Linked DNA regions of Homo sapiens: all the other regions are linked to region 5. Evidence: promoter capture Hi-C in human tissues and cell types (Jung and others, 2019). All regions are on one chromosome and are shown on one strand. The core of a region is centred on a gene start or on the middle of the fragment in contact, and the rest is flanking DNA. Distances in the headings are between cores, read along the strand shown.

What was found. The method cuts DNA at HindIII sites, captures the fragments that hold promoters and counts their contacts. A contact is called where the count stands out against the background at its distance.
Region 1: a contact is called between a fragment that was not itself captured here and the fragment with the promoter of PIRT in region 5, in 1 of the 25 tissues and cell types used here (dorsolateral prefrontal cortex).
Region 2: a fragment that was not itself captured here is called in contact with the fragment with the promoter of PIRT in region 5 in 1 of the 25 tissues and cell types used here (dorsolateral prefrontal cortex).
Region 3: a contact is called between a fragment that was not itself captured here and the fragment with the promoter of PIRT in region 5, in 2 of the 25 tissues and cell types used here (dorsolateral prefrontal cortex and spleen).
Region 4: a contact is called between a fragment that was not itself captured here and the fragment with the promoter of PIRT in region 5, in 1 of the 25 tissues and cell types used here (dorsolateral prefrontal cortex).
Region 6: a fragment that was not itself captured here is called in contact with the fragment with the promoter of PIRT in region 5 in 1 of the 25 tissues and cell types used here (dorsolateral prefrontal cortex).
Region 7: a fragment that was not itself captured here is called in contact with the fragment with the promoter of PIRT in region 5 in 2 of the 25 tissues and cell types used here (dorsolateral prefrontal cortex and lymphoblastoid cells).

The regions. Positions count from the first base shown.
Region 1 is chr17:11,981,811-11,984,510 of GRCh38, reverse strand. It overlaps ZNF18 (zinc finger protein 18), which reads left to right. Exons shown (of 7, transcript NM_001303281.2): 5 at 314-398; 6 at 1,104-1,214. Among named protein-coding and RNA genes, the nearest start is that of ZNF18, 14 kb to the left of the region's middle. The HindIII fragment of the contact is 3,173 bases long and covers 1-2,700 here.
Region 2 is chr17:11,900,922-11,903,621 of GRCh38, reverse strand. DNAH9 (dynein axonemal heavy chain 9) reads right to left here. Exons shown (of 69, transcript NM_001372.4): 60 at 710-903. Among named protein-coding and RNA genes, the nearest start is that of ZNF18, 95 kb to the left of the region's middle. The HindIII fragment of the contact is 3,725 bases long and covers 1-2,700 here.
Region 3 is chr17:11,963,113-11,965,812 of GRCh38, reverse strand. All of the region lies in intron 68 of DNAH9 (dynein axonemal heavy chain 9), which reads right to left. Among named protein-coding and RNA genes, the nearest start is that of ZNF18, 33 kb to the left of the region's middle. The HindIII fragment of the contact is 5,086 bases long and covers 1-2,700 here.
Region 4 is chr17:12,068,356-12,071,055 of GRCh38, reverse strand. All of the region lies in intron 2 of MAP2K4 (mitogen-activated protein kinase kinase 4), which reads right to left. Among named protein-coding and RNA genes, the nearest start is that of MIR744, 12 kb to the left of the region's middle. The HindIII fragment of the contact is 5,380 bases long and covers 1-2,700 here.
Region 5 is chr17:10,836,666-10,839,365 of GRCh38, reverse strand. It overlaps PIRT (phosphoinositide interacting regulator of transient receptor potential channels), which reads left to right and starts at 1,279. Exons shown (of 2, transcript NM_001101387.2): 1 at 1,279-1,421. RefSeq lists a silencer at 46-270 and an enhancer at 1,967-2,468. The HindIII fragment of the contact is 18,169 bases long and covers 1-2,700 here.
Region 6 is chr17:11,943,683-11,946,382 of GRCh38, reverse strand. The region is part of intron 67 of DNAH9 (dynein axonemal heavy chain 9); the gene reads right to left. Among named protein-coding and RNA genes, the nearest start is that of ZNF18, 52 kb to the left of the region's middle. The HindIII fragment of the contact is 6,646 bases long and covers 1-2,700 here.
Region 7 is chr17:11,921,100-11,923,799 of GRCh38, reverse strand. The region is part of intron 61 of DNAH9 (dynein axonemal heavy chain 9); the gene reads right to left. Among named protein-coding and RNA genes, the nearest start is that of ZNF18, 75 kb to the left of the region's middle. The HindIII fragment of the contact is 7,416 bases long and covers 1-2,700 here.

The DNA of each region.
Region 1 (2,700 bases), core at 21-2,520, 1.1 Mb before region 5:
AAAAACAAATAGTATGGAAAAGGCTCCTGCCCTCTATACGTTCTCCACTTTTAAATAATTCACCTGAAGAGGTGCAGAATGTAAAGCCTAGATGTTTTCTTACCAAGGAAAGAAACACTGATATAGGGACTGTTGTTTTCCCTTTGGCCTCTTTGTCCCTTGAACCACTCTGCTGGGATTTCTCAGGTCTTGCGATGGCCAGGATCCTATGGCACGTTTCTGTCTTCTCAGCTTTCCTTTAGGCAGGGAAGGCAGGTTCAAACACCTTCATTGGAGTCATGGTATTGTATTGCTTTTTTTTTTTTTTTTCCAGGAACAGTGGAGACAACTGGATTCCACTCAAAAGGAGCAATACTGGGATCTCATGCTGGAGACCTATGGGAAAATGGTCTCAGGAGGTGAGGGTGTGGGTTAGTCTGATGGAAGGAGGTAGAAGGACTGGAAAACTGTGAGGCATTTTCCATGCACTTATAGAGACATCTGCTGAACTGAAAATCGCCAGGTGAAAGAAATCGTTAGGGACACAGTTGGGAACTGGGGCAAGTTGGAGCTAGCAGAATTAACAGTAAGAACTTCCTTGTATTGAAAGTATTCCGTGTGCCAGGAACTGTTTGTGGGTACATTGCACGGAGTAACTTCTTTAATCTATGAAATTGATGATGGTATTCTCATTTTAAGCCTGATGAAAGTGAGTGTCAGATCAAATACTTACCCACTGCCACATAGCTCATAAGTGGGCTGAGTTATGATGGAACTCAGCTGTGGCTGGTTCTGAGTCCATGCTCTTTTCTACTAAACCACACTTGTCAACCAACCATTGGTGGGATCCCCATCATGATTCTCACACCAGCCTGCCAGGTAGTCTACAGACCTTTCTGTCCACCTGCCTAGACTCTTCTTTTCATGGCCTTTACCATCTGTCAAGGTCATCCTGTGAGTACTGGTGTCTTACAAGCTCCACACACTGTTCTAAGGTGAGTTTCTGCAAGTGTCCAGAGCCTTCATATTTTCCCTCATGCGTAGGGTGCTCCTTTGAAAGACACAGCTTGAGCTCCCAGTCTTCCCTATTCATCCAGGCCCACCATACATCTTTCTCTCTATAGCAGGCATTTCCCATCCCAAATCTGACCTGACTAATTCAATAGAATTTGGGGAAGAGCTGGCAGGAATATACCTTCATGTCAATGAGAAGATCCCAAGACCCACCTGCATAGGTGAGTAATCTTTCATTGGTCTGGAATCATTTCTGACTGCCTGTCATTAAATTGGAGGTGATTGGGGAGGTGGTGAAGGAGGTCAGGGGAGGCAGAATATTCTATTACGTTGGTTATAACTAGCCATGATCTGATTGGTTTGATTTAACTATTGAGATTGAGTCTACTTATCTCTGGCTATAGGGCTGTTGACACATATTTAACTATGGAAGGAAGACCACACATCAGACCTGCTGCCTTTAATCTTGTCTGTTATTTTAGCTTTCTTTCTCTGAAAGAATTAAGATTCACACAAATTAAGACCAATACAAATAGAGTAGAATTTCATTGCAAAGGATTATGTAGCAGCCATTATTACCCTTCCTAGCAAGAAGTTAGAGTATCTAGACATAAAACAAACAGAAAAAAATGTTTTATCTAATCCCTATGCACCTAACACTTCTTAAAACAGCAGCATCAACAAATACTTCGTATAAATAATTTATTTAAGACTAGGGAAGAAGAAATCTTAACTTGTTATCTTGTAAAATAGTCATTCTTTGCTTTCTACACTTTTTCTGAAACATTGAAGTTACGTAAAAACTAATTGCGAAACCTACACACACACACACACACACACACACACACACACACACACACTTTTATATATACAGTAAATCCCAGAACCTTAGAGGAAGAAGAGGACCAAGGATGGGAATTGTAGGGCAAGCCATTCTTTCTCCCCAGTGGCATCTAATTAATTATTTTCTTTTGCTAATATACCACAGAGAGAGCAATCATTAGCTGAGATATTTGATTTTAATTTTACACAACGTATTTATCAGGCCATTTCACAAGGATTTCTTCTGGAACAGAATTTTTCAAACTGCATTGCATAACCAATTAGTGAGTCGTGAAATCATTTGATAGAGTTACAACCAGCGTTAAAAAAAAACACAATAAGATTGAAGAGGAAATATCAGATGTAGGGGTGGGTAGTGTTTCAGGAAATATTTGTTTAAAATATGTGTGCATGTACTGTGTTTCAATATTAATATATCGATTACTGCCTTAGCTTGGGCTGCTGTAACAAAATACCATAGACTAAGTTGCTTAAACAACAAACATTTATTTCTCACATTTCTGGAGGTTGGGAAGTCCAAGATCAGGGTGCCAGTATGGTTTGCTGACCTCGCTTTTCTTGCTGTGTCTTCACATAGCAGAGAGGGGGGTTGGGGAGAGGAGAGGCGGAGAGGAAGGGAGAGACTGGGAGAGGGGGAGGTGAGAGAGGGAGAGGAGGAGACAGGAAACTAATCCCATCATGAGGACTCCACCCTTAGGACCTCATCTAGACCTAATCCCTCCCTAAGGCCCCAGGCCCCATCTCCAAATACCATCATACTGGGGGCTAGGGTTTCAACGTATGAATTTGGGGGATCACAGTTTAGTCCATAGAACTTATAGTGGGTTGTAGTCAGAAAAGGTTGAAAATATTGCTTTGGAGGTT
Region 2 (2,700 bases), core at 90-2,589, 1.1 Mb before region 5:
GGTATTTTTCTATCATGCCCTTACTCTAATCACTCCTTTCCTATCCAGTATAGACTCCACGGCCTACAACTTCTTTTTTCTTTTAAAAATAACTTTATTGAGGTGTAATTGACATACCATAGGATTTTCCCATTTTAAGTGTACTATTCAATAACTTAATACATTTACCAAGTTGTACAGTCTTTACCATAACCCCGTTTTAGAACATTTATATCACACCAGTGAGATTCTTTATGGCTATGGCTATTTAATTTCCTTTTTTTTTTTTATTTTTTACTTCTTTTGAGATGAAGTCTCACTCTGTCGCCCAGGCTGGAGTGTAGTGACGCAATCTCGGGTCACTGCAACCTCTGCCTCCCGGGTTCAAGCAATTCCCTGCCTCAGCCTCCAGAGTAGCTGGGATTACAGGTGCCTGTCACCATGCCAGGCTAAGTTTTGTATTTTCAGTAGAGACGGGGTTTCACCATCTTGGCCAGGCTGGTCTTGAACTCCTGACCTTGTGATCCACCTGCCTCGGCCTCCCGAAGTGCTGGGATTACAGGCGTGAGCCACCGCGCCTGGCCTGTTTAGTTAATTTCTATTCCCACCCTCTAGCTCCAGGAAACTACTATATACACATGGCTTTGGAGCTCAGCCCTGCTGGTCCAGTTGTCCTGAGGTTGCCCTTGCCCCATGCCTATGCTGGGCCTTCCACCACCCTGTTTCCTACCGCAAAGCATAGGTCATCCGGTCGGGCCGCATGGCTCTCAGCATGCAGAGGCGCTGCAGGGCTGTCTTGTTCTTCCACTCCTGTGGGAGCTTCTCTTTCTCAGGACATTCGGACTCCACAAACTTTTTCCAGCTCTTAGCAGATCCCTCTATGTCCCGATCCAGATTAGAGAATTCTTCCATTGATGAAAGTACCTGGGAAATTTCAGAGAATCTGAAATGCAGTTTCTCCAGAAAGCTGTCATTTGCATTGTGTTGGGGGATTGAGGGGCCAGATGGTCTTATCTACACAATTCTGTCTCATTTATACTCTTGTCTAGAGCTTTGGATCATCCCCCAGGAAAAATCAAGAAAGAGGAAGAATTTTGAGCAGCTTAGCAAAGTGCCCCAATAACATGCAAGATTTAGCGCATAAAATGTTTGGGATATTATTAGCAGCAGAGACTGAGCCACACCTGCCTGTAGGTGTGTACATGGAAAAGAGGGGCAAGAAGGGGCATTATGGTTATTCTGGTCTTGAAGCTTGGACACCTAAAGTTAGTGACTTCTCCCTTTCCTCCTCAAACTCACTCTGCCACCAAACCCTGTCAGTTCACCTCTCAAAATGTTTCTAGAATTATTCATGTACTCTGTGTTAACGCCAACTCTTAAAATGCCCATGGGTTGTCTATTTCTATGAGGATTCAGTCCAAATGTATAACTTGGTAGCCAGATCTCTTCATCTGGTGCCTCTCTTCAATCTGTCCAGTAAGTCATGTGTCCTCCTACTCTGTCCCACTCTGAGCATATCTGCTCCCAACCTTGGAAATGTGCCTGACTCATTCCCAACTCATTTCCTTGTTCATACTACTTCCACCATCTGTAAAGTCCTGTTTTCTTTTCTGCCACATTCCACTTCTTCCTTTTCTTGTGCTGGTCACGATTGTTATATGTTAAGGCTCTACAGGTTGTGAAAGACCAGTTCAAAACCTGCAACCTCCCTTGGGCCATCCTTCCTAATGTAGAACATGTAGACCTCCCATCCTTTTGTAAACCACTTAGAGCAAGCTTGTCCAACCCATGGCCCTTGGGCTGCATGCGGCCTAGGACGGCTTTGAAGGTGGCCCAATACAAATTCATAAACTTTCATGAAACATTATGAGTTTTTTTGTGACAGATATATATTTTAGCTCATCAACTATCATTAGTGTTAGCGTGTTTTTTGTTTTGTTTTGTTTTGAGACGGAGTGTCGCTCTGTTGCCCAGGCTGGAGCGCAGTGGCATGATCTTGGCTCACTGCAACCTCCACCTCCTGGATTCAAGCAATTCTCCTGTCTCAGCCTCCCGAGTAGCTGGGACTACAGGTGCAGACCACCACGCCTGGCTAATTTTTGTATTTTTAGTAGAGACGGGGTTTCACCATATTGGTCGGGCTGGTCTTGAACTCCTGACCTCAGGCGATCCACCCGCCTCGACCTCCCAAAGAGTTGGGATTACGGGTGTGAGCCACCACACCCGGCCCCAGTGTTAGTGTGTTTTATGTGTGGTCCAAGACAATTCTTCTTCTTCCAGTGTGGCCCGGGGAAGCCAAAGATTGAACACCCCTGACTTAGAGATACTTGCAGAGTTGACATCTTTAATAAAGAGCTTGACTTCGTTTTTAGATGTTTGACTGCTGATAGCTTTTAAACCTCATCCTTTCCTCTTCCCCTTCTGCCCTGGGCACTCTCTCTTTTGGTGCTGGAGGGAAGTTGTACCAGGCAAGCCCCTGCCCATGCACAGACACCCTCACCCTGGCCCCACCCCCTAAGCATCATAATACCCAAAGCAGTCTCCTTTTCTGGCACTCTCAAGCCATTTGCAGCCTGCTTGGGAGCTCCTTTGCTCTTCCTAGAAAACCATGTTATCTGAGTAATAAACTTTCTCATACCCTCTTAGTATGTATGTAGCATCATCAGTCTTGATGTTGGAACTGTATTTTGGGTGTGTGTGTAGGAGGTCTGTTCTATTTCT
Region 3 (2,700 bases), core at 128-2,627, 1.1 Mb before region 5:
AAATCCAGAGTTTCTACTTTATTTTTTTAAAAACATATATAATTTTTCTCTCTGTATTCTCTATTCAGTGATACATAGTTCACACAATTTTCTTTAGTTATTTAGACATGGTTTCTTTTGGTTATTGGAACATCTTTAAAATAGCTGATTTAAAGTCTTTGTCTAGCAAGTCCAATATTTGATCCCCCTCAGGAATAGTTTGCGTTGATTGCTTTCTTCCTTGTGTATGGGCCATTGCTTTTTGTTTCTTTGTATATCATAATTTTTTTGTTGAAAACTTGGACATTTTAAATAATGTGGCCACTCTGCAAATCATATTCTCTCTCTTGCCAGGGTTTGTTTAGTGACTTTTCTGAACTGATTCTGTAAAGTCTATATTCTTTGTCAAGTATGGCCACTGAAGTGGCCTGCTCTGTTAGCTTAGAGGTCACCAAATAATTGGACAGATTTTCTCAAATGCCTAGAACCAATAAGTCACAAAGTCTTGGCTGAGTGGCTGTGTGCAAGTGTTGGAGCACACCTTCAGTGCTTAGCCAGGCAGTTTAAAACTCTGCTTAGATTTCACTCCCCTGTTTTCCTAGAACCTCAAGGTTAGCTAGAGTGTACTGCCTTCTCAACTCTCTTGAGCATGTCCACAGCTGTGGATGGGTGCACAGATCTGCACATAGGCATGGCCTAGATTTCCAGGAACATGTCAGGGGTTTTCAAAGCCCCCTATGGCCATCTCATTCTCCGACTTGCCCTTTTAAGCTTTTTGATTAGCCTACTGTTTGCACCACTATTATCTACTGCTTCAGACAAACTGCAGTGTTAAGCAGTTGTCTTTGATTGTCTTCAACAAATGCCCTGGGGAAAAAGACTGTTGCCCTGGGTGAGTTCCAACTCAGGTGAGATAAAGACTTGTGAGTCCAGGGAATCCCTGGACAGGCAAAATAATGACAGTTTTTTTGTGGGGGGGTGGGGAACAGGGCTTTGAAGGTGCTCCAACCCCATTTTGCCCCTTCCAGTGGTTTCCAGGCTACTGGTTTCACTGTGATTGTGGTCTGTTGGTTTTATAGGTAACCTCCAAGCTAGGGGTTGGGTTGAGATGGGAATAGACAAGTTAAAAGGCCATAGACTGTTCTTCCTACTGAGATTCAGCTGTTTTGCTTGAGTAAACACTTCTTGGATTGCTGAAAGCCTTTGGTTAATTTCCAGAATTCTAAGAAAGTTGATTCTGACTCAGTTTTTGTGAATGTTCTCATTGTTTTATGGAGGAGAGGATTTTAGGAGGTCCTGACTCTTCCATTTTTGCCGACATCTTTCTGGGATAAAACCTTTGAGAACAACAGCTTTTGGTGAAGAAGTATTGATTTTGGGGAAGTTTTTATTATTATTTACAATGAGGTATGAAAAATGGGAGGTTGACAATTGAAACTGATATCATTCCCCCACTTCCAGTGTCACTGACTTTCCTTCTGAGCTTCTTGCCTACTTTCCTTTTGGTACTTCTCTCATTTTGGTGGTTTGGAGGATTCTATTAATAGCTGTGGCTTGCTCTAGGCCACCTTATACCTAATGCAATCCATATATGATCTCCACTGACAGAATCTTGTGCAAATGTTCAGGTGGAGAGAGGGAAGTCAACTTCCTTCTCAAGATTCAGGCTTTCTAAACATTACCCTACTTTACTGTCCTTTCTGTTGGCTCTTGAATTGCTTTCCTAGGGCTGGCATAATAAAATGCCACAAACTTGATGGCTTGAAACAACATATTATCTCACAGTTCTGGAGGCCAGAAGTCCTAAGTCAAAGTATGGGCAGAGTTGGTCCTCCTGGAGGTTCTGAAGCAGAAACCATCCCATACCTTTCCTAGCTTCTGATGGTTGCTGGTAATCCCTGGAATTCCTCGGCTTGTAGATACATCACTCCAATTCTGCCTCTGTCTTCATAGGGAATTCTCTTCTGTGTCTCTACATGGTCTTCTTTGTTTTGTTTTTTTGAGGTAATTTGTTTAACTGCAAGCCTATATGGAATGAATGAATACATTTCCTACTGCTAATATACTCCATGAGACTTTACTTGCTATATCCACTAGAATGGTAAGCATTATAAAACATGTCTCAACAAAATTTTCCATCTCTTTTCCTTTTAGTTTCTTTTTTTTAAAAAAAATTTCAACTCTTAGATACAGGGGATACATATGCAGATTTGTTACATGGGAATATTGTATGATGCTGAGGTTTGGAGTATGGATCCCTTCATCTAGTTAGTGAGCATAGTACCGGATAGTTAGTTTTTATTAACCCCCACCTCTCCCTACACCCTCTAATAATCCAGTGTCTATTGTTCCCATATCTGTGCCCATCTATGTGGTCGTTGTCTTCTTTTTTTTTTTTTGAGACGGAGTTTTGCTCTTGTTGCCCAGGCTGGAATGCAATGGTGCGATCTCGGCTCACTGCAACCTCCACCTCCCGGGTTCAAGCGATTCTCCTGCTTCAGCATTCCGAGTAGCTGGGATAACAGGCATGCACCACCATGCCCGGCTAATTTTGTATTTTTAGTAGAGATGGGGTTTCTCCATGTTGGTCAGGCTGGTCTCAAACTCCTGACCTCAGGTGATCTGCCCGCCTCGGCCTCCCAAAGTGCTGGGATTACAGGTGTGAGCCACTGTGCCCGACCTGTGTGTCTTCTTATAAGGGCACTGGTCATTGGATTTAGG
Region 4 (2,700 bases), core at 11-2,510, 1.2 Mb before region 5:
GAGATTACGGTTATGCTGCCACAAGCCAAGGAAGAGCAGCAGTACCAGAAGCTGAAAGAAAGGGGGGATCCTCCCCCAGAACCTTCGGGAGAAGCATGGCCCTGCCAACACCTTCAGATTTCTGGCCTCTAGAACTGTGAGAGAATAAATTTCTGTTGTTTTAAGCCACCAAGTTTGTGGTAATCTCACAGAAGCCTTGAAAAATCCAGTACACCATCTAAATCATGAGTCACAACCTTTTTCTGTAAAGAACCAGATAGCAAATATTTTAGGCTTTGCAAGCCACTAGTCTCCTGCAACTATGCAGCCAGATGGGTGTGGCTATGTTCCAATAAAACTTTACTTACAAAAACAAGCAAACAGGATGGATTCAGCTCATGAGCTGTAGTTTGCTGACTACATGATATAAATGATACCAAATGGTATCTAGCAACCTAAATTGCATCTATCATGCAAATAATCTAAATCATATTTTCTATATCCTTTTTCTCTTTTACATTTATAATTATGCTCTATATGATAAGCACCTTCAATTATCTGCCCAAATCCTATAGTTCTGTTTCCAGAATTTAATCTCAAGATACATTTCAGAATTTTTCTTGAAAATGGCCCACCAATCAACAGAGAGTGGAATTAGGGGCAGAAACCCTTCTAGGATTCTCTCATCACTTAGGTAAGTACGCTAAGATGGCAGCAAACCTCCTTGTTTAATATCCTGGACATCTCTCATATCTACCTATCTTTCAGCAAGTAATAGCTAATTATCTTAACAGATTTCTTTTTCCTGCACATGAGAACTTGATTTCTCAAACTTGACAATGTCTACTATTTTCCTTCAATAAATAAATAAATATCTTCTTGTGCCTAGAACCACTATCCGTAAGAACCTTTTATTATTTAATTAGTTTGAAGTATGTTTTCTCCTCTTATTTCACTATCACATTCTTCTACCTCGATCATCTGATCTTGATTTCTTCCCAATGCTATCAAATATACCTTCTTTCCCAAATCATTTCTTCCTTCTTTTTCCTAAGCAACTTTGACTGTATCAAGCCAGCATATACTAAAACGCCCCAAGCTGTTTTACTGTCTCCTCAGCATGCATATATATATATATATATATATATATATATATATATATATATATATATATATATATATATATGACTAATCTTCCTTAGACAGGAAAATAAAGGTAAGACATACCCTGCACATCACTGCAACTGTTCTTCTGTGTCCGTACTGTTACGATCTCTAGATGAATACTGCTTTATGCATCCTTCTGCAATGCAGCTCTGTTAATTCCGGAAATTTCCACAGTAAACTCGGTCTGTCAGTTACCATGGAAACTGCCTGCTTCCTGGCACTACCAACAAATGAGTATCTTTGCTGTGATCTAAGATGAGGCAAAAGGAAAAACTGAAAAATGAAATGTCCAGAAGAATGGCTCAAACATTCTAAATAGAAAATTTCAAATTCTGATACTCATATTTAGTGAACAGAATGTATTAGACAAATTAGATAAGTCTGCAGTATTCTGAAGTAGTACTGATTTATGACATACAAAGAAATGTTTTATCACCACAGAAAAGAGTAACATTAAAGAGGACAAGACAAACATTCATGTTTGCATCATGTTGCTATTGACTGTTTCCTAAGAGCTGATCCTGTGTCAGTTGTACTCTAAGTTTACCCTTAGAACAGTTTTTCTGGGCTATGCTTCTTCAAGAAAAGGTAAGGAAAACTGCCCTAAATCTATAGGTTACATGTTTTCATGAGATCCTTTCCCTGTTTAGGCCCCAATTTCCAGTGGCAGCTAAAACCTCTTCCCAAGTAAGTAAGAAATTAAGAGTAGTTTAAAGTGTATCTCAGGAGTTTTTGCCAACAAGGTAGCTTTACTAGCATTCTCAGAACATTAGACATAGCCAACCACAATTCCTTCCCAACTGCACTTTGAAACAATGCTAGATTTCTATAACATCATGCACTACCAGTTTGCTTCCTAATTATCAAGCATCTTTTAATTTTTGCCTGTCCCTCCTCTTCTATCCAACCTCTAAATGTTAGATTTTCTTGGGGCTCAGCCCTGGACACAATTTTCTCATCAAAATACATTCTCACTCTCTTCCTAGGCAACCCTTTCATCTATATGGCAGCAATTTTCAACTTTTTATCTCCAATCTACAACTTCACTTCTGGCACCAGACTCATATTTTCAACACCAGAGTATGTGATACATGCACATAAGCACAGAAACACATGTATACATAAATACATATACACACACGCTATATATATATATAATATATATATGTATGTTTTGATATCCCTAATAAAATGTCACAGGTCCCTCAAACTTAAATATTATCTAAAACTCGATCTTGCCCTATGACCCCTATTTACAGATGCTCCATACCCAGTAGTCTCCATCACAGTAATCGCAACTAAACCCATTAATTCAAGCCAGAATTCTACAAGTCACTATGAACACCTTCCTCCTTGTCATCATCTACATTCAAATTATCACCAATATTTATTAATTACTTCCAAAATGTCTTTACAGTCTCTCTACATGTACTGTCATCAATTTAATACTATTGAAGTCATGATAGGTGACTATTACGCTTTACCTACATTACCATAGTTTTATCAGGTCTCCCTAACTATATTCTTACCTCCTTTCAGTACATAGTCCACACG
Region 5 (2,700 bases), core at 30-2,529:
AAAAACCTTCAAAGTCAAGTTCCCCTGGACACTCAAGGCAGGCCTCTCCCTGCTCATTGCCCTGAGCAGAGACGCTCATCTTCACAGAGGACAGAGGGCGTACTCAGCCTGATCCCTCACAGCAGCTCAGGGGACAGGCTCATCCTCCTAGCTCTCTGCTTCTCTAGGCATGGATCACACAGCAACCTCTACAGAGCCTTCTAGGCTCAGAATCTCCTGCTCATTGCACAGATGAGGAACTCAAGATGCCAAATATGGGAGAGTCTCATACCTGCCTTGACAGCAGCTTCCTTGGATGGCTCCTAGGAAAGCCCTCCCGGCAGACCACAGAGGAAGCCCCTCAGGGTACTGTTCCCAGTAGCAAGGATGCCCACCCACCAGTTATCCTGAGGAACAACAGCTGCCCACGTTCTCAGGTTAGTGTGGGCCAGGGCAGGAGCCAGCATGCCTTCCAGAATCATAGGCAATTTTGCTGACCTCAGTGTATCCGTCAGCATCTTGAGAACTGGCCACTCAACAGCTCACACCCAGCTTCCCGAAGCACAGTCTGGTAAAGGTTTATAGAGGAGAAAACCTTTTCATCCTCCTTGCACTGATTTGCATCATTCTCTTCTCATCATTGTGGCAGCAGGCATCCCATAAAAAGCAACAGGGCACCATGAGGAATGATTGGAAGAGCGATGGGGAACAAGCTCTTTTGCCTCTATTTGAGATGTCAGGCCTGGGATGGAGGTAAGTCGTGTTGTGGGCTCCTGGCAGTTTGTAACATAGGGTGCCCACCCGTGCATTGGAAAGTTCCAAGAAGTGTCCCTGCCATCTTGCAACCAAGGATGTTTTCTAAGTCTGCATGTGCCCCCTCCAACATCCAGAACACAGAGAGTTCCCAGATCAAATTATTAAGGCCTGCACTGAACAGAGCCAGTGTAGCCTGAGTCAGCCGGAGGGTCTGATCCACTCTTTGGCAACTCATCCCCACCACCATGGCCACTACACACCTCCACCAACCCAGAAACTCCAGGTCCTCTGATTTCTGAGCCTGGGTCAGGAGAAGCTGCCCTGCCCAGGCACCAACGGAACGCACGCCTCCATGAAACTTGAAGACAGACTGCAGAGAAGCATCATGAATTTTTCACAAGATTCATCTAATTGTGGCTGAGCAGAGCTGAGAAAGCCACAGTCCGAGGACCCATGCCAGCAGCTCACAAAGAGTTAACCCATTAGGCCATTGCCTGGTGAGCTCATCCATCCCTGCTGGAGCCTGCTCAGTTGCTGGGATTCACAACACACTGACTTCTGGACGTGGTCAGGGTGGCTTTCTCTGGCTGGCATGGACTTGAGCAGAAACTCATTGCCGGCTTCCTCCTTGCACGAGCACCAAGTGATTCCCAGGTCCCCCATCCTCCCCTGGGACATCGAGGACAGTAAGTAAGGAGGGAATGTTTCCTTCTGCCCTTCCTTCCATCTCGCTGAAGGAAGGAGCAGATTTTAACTTTGCTTTGGAGCGTGTTGTCTTTAAACTGGGGTTGGAAGGCAAGCATGAACAACAAGCGGAGAAAAGGGGGCTATGCCCTGGGAGGGGGTGAAGTCAGCCTGGAGGCACTGCCTGCTGAGGGTCTTGGCAGACAGTGGTGGCCAGAGGAAGGGGGGCCGCCCCTTGCTGTGTACTGGGAAGAAGGGAATTTGTGGGCAGAGAGCTGCTTCAGTCCTGCGTCTATAGCATCCAGCCTTCACTCTTAGCAGCCATTGTGGGAAGGGCTGGGCAGGGACTCTCCTCCCAAATCTAAGTGGAAGAAGCAAAAAAGCCAGACAGGAAAGTGCAAGGCCACCCCCAGACCCCAGAGTACATGGGTGGAATCTCGGACCCCAGCCGTCCTCCTGAGCACCCTGTGTCAGACCTCTGCAGCTGCCAATGTCTTCCTCCTGCAGCTGTGGCAGGTGTCTGGGGCAGGTGCCAGAAAAACAAGGTGGAGTGCGTTGGCTGCCTCGGGAGTTTTATCTCAGACAGGGGGAACAAGGCAGGCACATGCAAACACGGACAAAGACGTGGCTCAGTCAGGCAACTGTGTGCCGTGAGAACCCTGCATCCGGGTAAAGCCAGCCGTGGTCACACACGCAATCGCCCGAGCTATTTTTCTACCCTGTCACTGGCCAGGGTCTGGGCACCAGCCGGGTGGCCCAACAAGGGAGGTGGGTGGCACCCTCTAGGTTGACTGTGACCTTTGGGAAACTTCCCTTCCTAGAAGCGCTATGAGCAGGTGACAGATGGGTGGCCATGGCCATGGTGACAGCAGCGGCTTACTCAGAAACCCTCTAGCTTCTATTAGCCCAGACACTTGGCCCCCACTCACCTTATCAGAGGGGTGGACAGTCACCAACTGAATGTCCTGGTGAGGGGAAGACAGCACCGCCAGAGAAGATAAGGGACCGTGGGGATGACCACTGGCAAGCTGGAGCTGGGTGGGGCCTTAATGGGGACTCCGTGAGGGAAACAGGAGGACCCTCCACTTCTTACCACTCTGGGTCTTCCACAGGAATAATACATGGTGTTATTCCCACCACTTCCATCCTGCCTTCCCCGCTTCTCCCCCAGACTCCCCTCGCTGGGCCCAGCCTCCCAGCAGTGAGGTAATGTGTGCCTCTCTCCTCTGCTTTCAGCTCTTGCAACTTCCAGAACAGCCCAGGTGCTATCAGAGCTCTCTA
Region 6 (2,700 bases), core at 176-2,675, 1.1 Mb before region 5:
CGGGAAGTAATTTTTATCATTCAAACGTGTGATGGTGTCAGGCTTTTTGTCTATGCTTCAGTGGTTGATTGCCCCTCCTGATAGACAAAATCTGTTTCTAAAGATGTGAAGCTGTTCAAGTTTAAAGTCTGGCTTGCTGACTGGGGATCTAATCTGGCTCTTTTTTTTTTTTTTTTTTTTTTTGAGATGGACTCTTGCTCTGTCACCCAGACTGGAGTGCAGTGGCATGATCTCAGCTCGCTGCAACCTCCACCTCCCGGGTTCAAACTATTCTCCTGCCTCAGCCTCCCAAGTAGCTGGGATTACAGGTGCGTGCCACCACGCCTGGCTAATTTTTGTATTTTTTAGTAGAGATGAGGTTTCACCATGTTGGCCAGGCTTGTCTCCAACTCCTGACCTCAACTGATCCGCCCACCTCGGCCTCCCAAAGTGCTGAGACTACCAGGTGCCCACCACTACGCCCGGCTAATTTTTTTTTTTGTATTTTTAGTAGAGACGGGGTTTCACCATGCTAGCCAGGATGGTCTTGATCTCCTGACCTCGTGATCCAGCTGCCTCGGCCTCCCAAAGTGCTGGGATTACAGGCGTGAGCCACTGCGCCCGGCCACAAGTGCAGCTTTCTCACATGTGTATATTGCATAGTAGTGCAATTCTCACTTTTAGTGCACTTGTCACCTGAATAGTGAACACTGTACCCAATAAGTAATTTTTCATTCCTCACCCCCCTCCTTCCTTCCCACCTTTTGCCACCTCCAATATTGGTTATTCCACTTTGTATGTCTGTGTATTCCCATCGTTTAGCTCCAACAGTCCCAGAACTTTAAAGTGATTTTTTTTTTTTTTTTGAGATGGAATCTCTCTCTGTCACCCAGGCTGGAGTGCAGTGTCACAGTGTCGGCTCACTGCAGGTTATAGCATCCCAGGTTAAAGCGATTCTCCTGCTTCAGCCTCCGTAGTAGCTGGGATTACAGGCGCCCGCCACCACGCCTGGCTTATTTTTGTATTTTTAGTAGAGACGGGGTTTTGCCATGTTGGCCAGGCTGGTCTTGAACTCCTGACCTTAAGCAATCCACCTGCCTCGGCCTCCCAAAGAGCTGGGATTACAGGCATGAGCCACTGAGCCCAGCATAAAGTGATTGTTAAACTAAGAAAGTGAGGAAGGAAAACCTCAAGCAGAATTTCCTCTTCCCCTTCCCCCTGCCAGGTAAGCTGGTCAGCAAAGCCAAGCGTGCCTTCCACCAGTGTTCTGGGAAGAGCTCGGAGCTGACATTCCTCGCTGCTCCATCTCAGGGACTTGCCCCACTTAGGCCCTCCGCCTCTCACTCACAGGCCAGACCACTCTGCGAACCCCTCCTGCCAAGTCACCTGTTTTGCCTCTTTTCCCTGCTGTTCTCATTTCTGGCCAGCTCAGCTTTATCCATTCCCTAGACTTAAAACTCTCTTCTCTGAACTCTGCTGCCATCCCCTTTGCACCTTCATTTTGCCACAAATACCACTGTCTAACTTTTTTCTTTTGCCTCTTACCTTCATGCTGTGCTTCCCAAACTTGAGTCATCATAAGAATTTCCTGGCTGGTGATGAAACATTACGGACTTCCAGGCCCCACCCTTAGAGGTTGGTAGGACTGGAGCGTGGAGATGGGAACATGTGATAAAACTTCTGGAGAGTCTGAGGACCAGGCCAGCTTGGGGGATGGTCCTAAGGAGAGTCTGGGATTCATGACAGCAAGTTTGAATGGAGATTTCTCTGTTTATCTTCCATTTCGCAGTGGGACCAGTAGACAAAGGTCCCAGCTACTTTTCTATCATTGTTTTGTCACCTTTTGGAAGTTCACCCTATCACTGTTGCTCACCTGAGTGGGCCTGTAGCTGCAGCCAAACCATGTTAACTCTGAGAACAGACCGTGGGCTGCTCTGCCCTGTGCCTCTAGGAGCCCCTGCCTTTTGTGATCACCTGTCACAACCCTACCCTTCCTCCAGAACCCCCTCAATGCCACTGCTTCCCTGGGGCTTTCCTTATCCCACACACAATACTTGTTTCTTCTTTCTTCTCCCGCGTCTCTCTATGTGGCTCTTAATTAATTTCACCCTGCTTTATATCAGTGTGTGTGTCTGTTTCCCCACAAGACTGTCCTTCTGCAAGGGAAGGCTCCCTTTCCAATCTCCTCTGCACCCTCCAGCAGGCAGTGCTGAGACTTGCCCAAGAGGCTCATCAATCAACATTGCTTGAATCAGACTGAAAGAAAAGACAACTACCTCTCACACCCTGCATCTTTGCCCAGGCAAGCTCCGAGATTCATGACACCAACTGCAGCAAAGGCTCTCGAAAGAAAAATGAGTGAATGAATTGGAAGTCGAATGGGTAAACAGGCTGTGCCACATTACCCAAGTTCCATAAGCCTTTCAAATGGCAGCAAACCTACTCAAGATAGTTACTGATATATACCTGCGTACTCAGTAATGGAACTGCATTACATAACAGGCAAAGTTCTTATTTACTCTGTGAAATTTTGTACTTCATTTGATTACAAGCTGGCACAGAATTTGGAAACGTTACCAAACATTGTCCATCTTCAACATTCCCCTCCTGTCTCTCCTTCCTTATTTCCTTCTACCCATGTTGAGGTGCGGTGGAGGAAGGAGAAAGAACATTAAGAGATTAAACAAAAAAAACCCTAACCTTGATTTTTTTGTTTTTGTT
Region 7 (2,700 bases), core at 15-2,514, 1.1 Mb before region 5:
GAGGCGTCATTATTATTTCTTGTGTCTAATGATGGATGTTTGATGTTCATAAGGAAATGCACACGCTCAGATCACCCCTCAAACACGGGCATGCCCAAATCTATAACCGAAACCTCATATACTGACCCTTTTCCTTCACAGGGGGCTACTTCTTCCAGCTTTTTATTGTCATATAAAAGGAAGCACTTGAGCCGGGCGCAGTGGCTCATGCCTGTAATCCCAGCACTTTGGGAGGCCGAGGCGAGCGGATCACCAGGTCAGGAGATCGAGACCATCCTGGCTAACACAGTGAAACCCCATCTCTGCTAAAAATACAAAAAATTAGCTGGGCGTGGTGGTGGGCGCCTGTAGTCCCAGCTACTCGGGAGGCTGAGGCAGGAGAATGGCGTGAACCCAGGAGGCGGACCTTGCAATGAGCCGAGATTGCGCCACTGGCTCACTCCTGTAATCCCAGCACTTTGGGAGGCTGAGGCAGCAGGTGGATCACCTGAGGTCAGGAGTTCAAGACCAGCCTGGCCAACATAGTGAAACCTCATCTTTACTAAAAATACAAAAAATTAGCTGGGTGTGGTGGGAGGTGCCTGTAATCCCAGCTACTAGGGAGGCTGAGGCAGGAGAATCACTTGAACCCAGGAGGCGGAGGTTGCAGTGAGACGAGATCACGCCATTGCACTCCAGCCTGGGCAACAAGAGCGAAACTCAGTCTCAAAACAAAACAAAACAAAAACCAAAACAAACAAAAAAAAAAGAAGCACTTGTTCAGACCAAAATCACTTCACTCTTCCCTCTTCACTTAATTCCCAAAGAGGGGTAGGATTGCTGATGCTATTCTTTATGTGTCTTATCTGCAGACCAGATATGGGTCCACCATTCTAGGGAGTGCTGATGAGAGAAGGGTGAGAGAGTAGCAAGCATATGGGTGTGGTCCTTTGTGGCTTGCCTTGTCCTCTGAATAAATATTGTGTCTTCTCTGGAACTTTACTGGGAGGTGTGGCCAGTAGGGGCAGGATTCAGGTAGTTCTGGCTTCCTGTACTTTATGCCCTATTAACCTCCTCTCCTATCATTCCCAACACATAGAAAAGAGTTATCTCATCATTTTGCACGAATTAGAGTGAAGAGGGGCAAGACATGAAGCTGTTTAGTTGTGTAGGTGTGAATTTTCTGTTGGATGTATATAAGGGTTGCTGGTGTTGCAGATGGATTAAGAGAATGACCACACACACAAATGTGGCAGCCATACCACTGAAGCAAGACCAGTGGGCTTCAGCTGCTCTCCACGCCCAAGGGAAACAACACAAAGAAATGACCCTAATATAGAGAACATTAGCTCTTAGCACAATCCAATAAAGTGTAGAGAAATTACATAATATTCTTTAGATAAAAGGATCATAAAAATGTATAATACCATGAAGGAATCATTAAGTGATTTTTCTAGCAAGGTGAAGTAGACAAAAGGGGAGAAATCGAAAAAGAAATAATAAAAATCCATACTTAAAAAAAATTTAGTTTCAGAGGAACTAAAAGTGAAGATGTAGTTTGATACTTCTGCAAGAAAATTTTTGGAAACAAGTGTTCATATTGAATATTTCTTTTAAATATAAACAATGTATAGACTGTCATTGAAATGTACAGGACAACGCAAGATGATGACTTTTTGTAGTAAGAAATAGATATTGGAGACTTAACTGAGATGAACCCAAGAAACACCGTTATTAAATTATAAATCTTAGTTGGCAAAACATTTGATGTCAGCTTTGGAAGTGGGGAGATAAACAATTCATTCCAGAGAAAATACCAGGATAAAAAGTGTTGGGACTTTTAGATGTCTTCTGTGACATTTCTGCTCACAAAAGGGCCTGTTTATTTTGTTTATTAGCAACAGAAGGATATGGGCAAAGAGGTTATTTAATAAAGATTAGTTTGAAAATTCCAGACTGGAGGGATCATCACGGGCAAAGTTTAGCACTGCAGAGCCCGGCTGGGATCAGTCTGCATTAATCTGGGCTTGAGGCATGACAATGAGGCGGAGAAGAAAGAAATGGATCTTGGAAACATTGAGAAGGGGAAAAATGGATGGGATTCTCACTAACTGAACACTCAGCCAAAGGTGGCCGCATCCCATGTGAGCCTCATGGGTGCGGAGGTAACCTTGCGAGGTCTTTCCCTTTGCAACTGTGAGGCTCTCAGATGGCTTATTGGGCCTTGAGCAAGTCCCTCCAGTGTCTCAGGATTTCACCTTCAGATTGTTGTATGCTGGTGCTTCCATGCCTCCACCCCTACTGCTTGTGACTCATCTCTCCTTTTCTGACTTTCCTTCCAGCTCTACATATGGTGGTGTCACCTGGAACTATGCCCCACTGTCAACCTCTTTTAACATCTTTACGGTGTGCGTCACTGACCTCTAGTCTCTCTGAGGACATCACAACTCCTACAGTCCTCTCCCTAGTTCCATACCCCTATGGCATTGGCGTTGGAAGGGGAACATTTTTTCTAGTGTTTTCTTGCTACTTGGAGGCTATTTCTTCTCCACCTTCATAAAAAAGAAAAAAAAAAAATCACCTTTTTTTCTTTTTTTTCACCCAGGCTGGAATGCAGTGGCATGATCTCACCTTACTGCAACCTCCACCTCCCAGATTCAAGTGATTCTCCTGCCTCAGCCTCCCGAGTAGCTGGGATTACACCCAGGCTGGAGTGCAGTG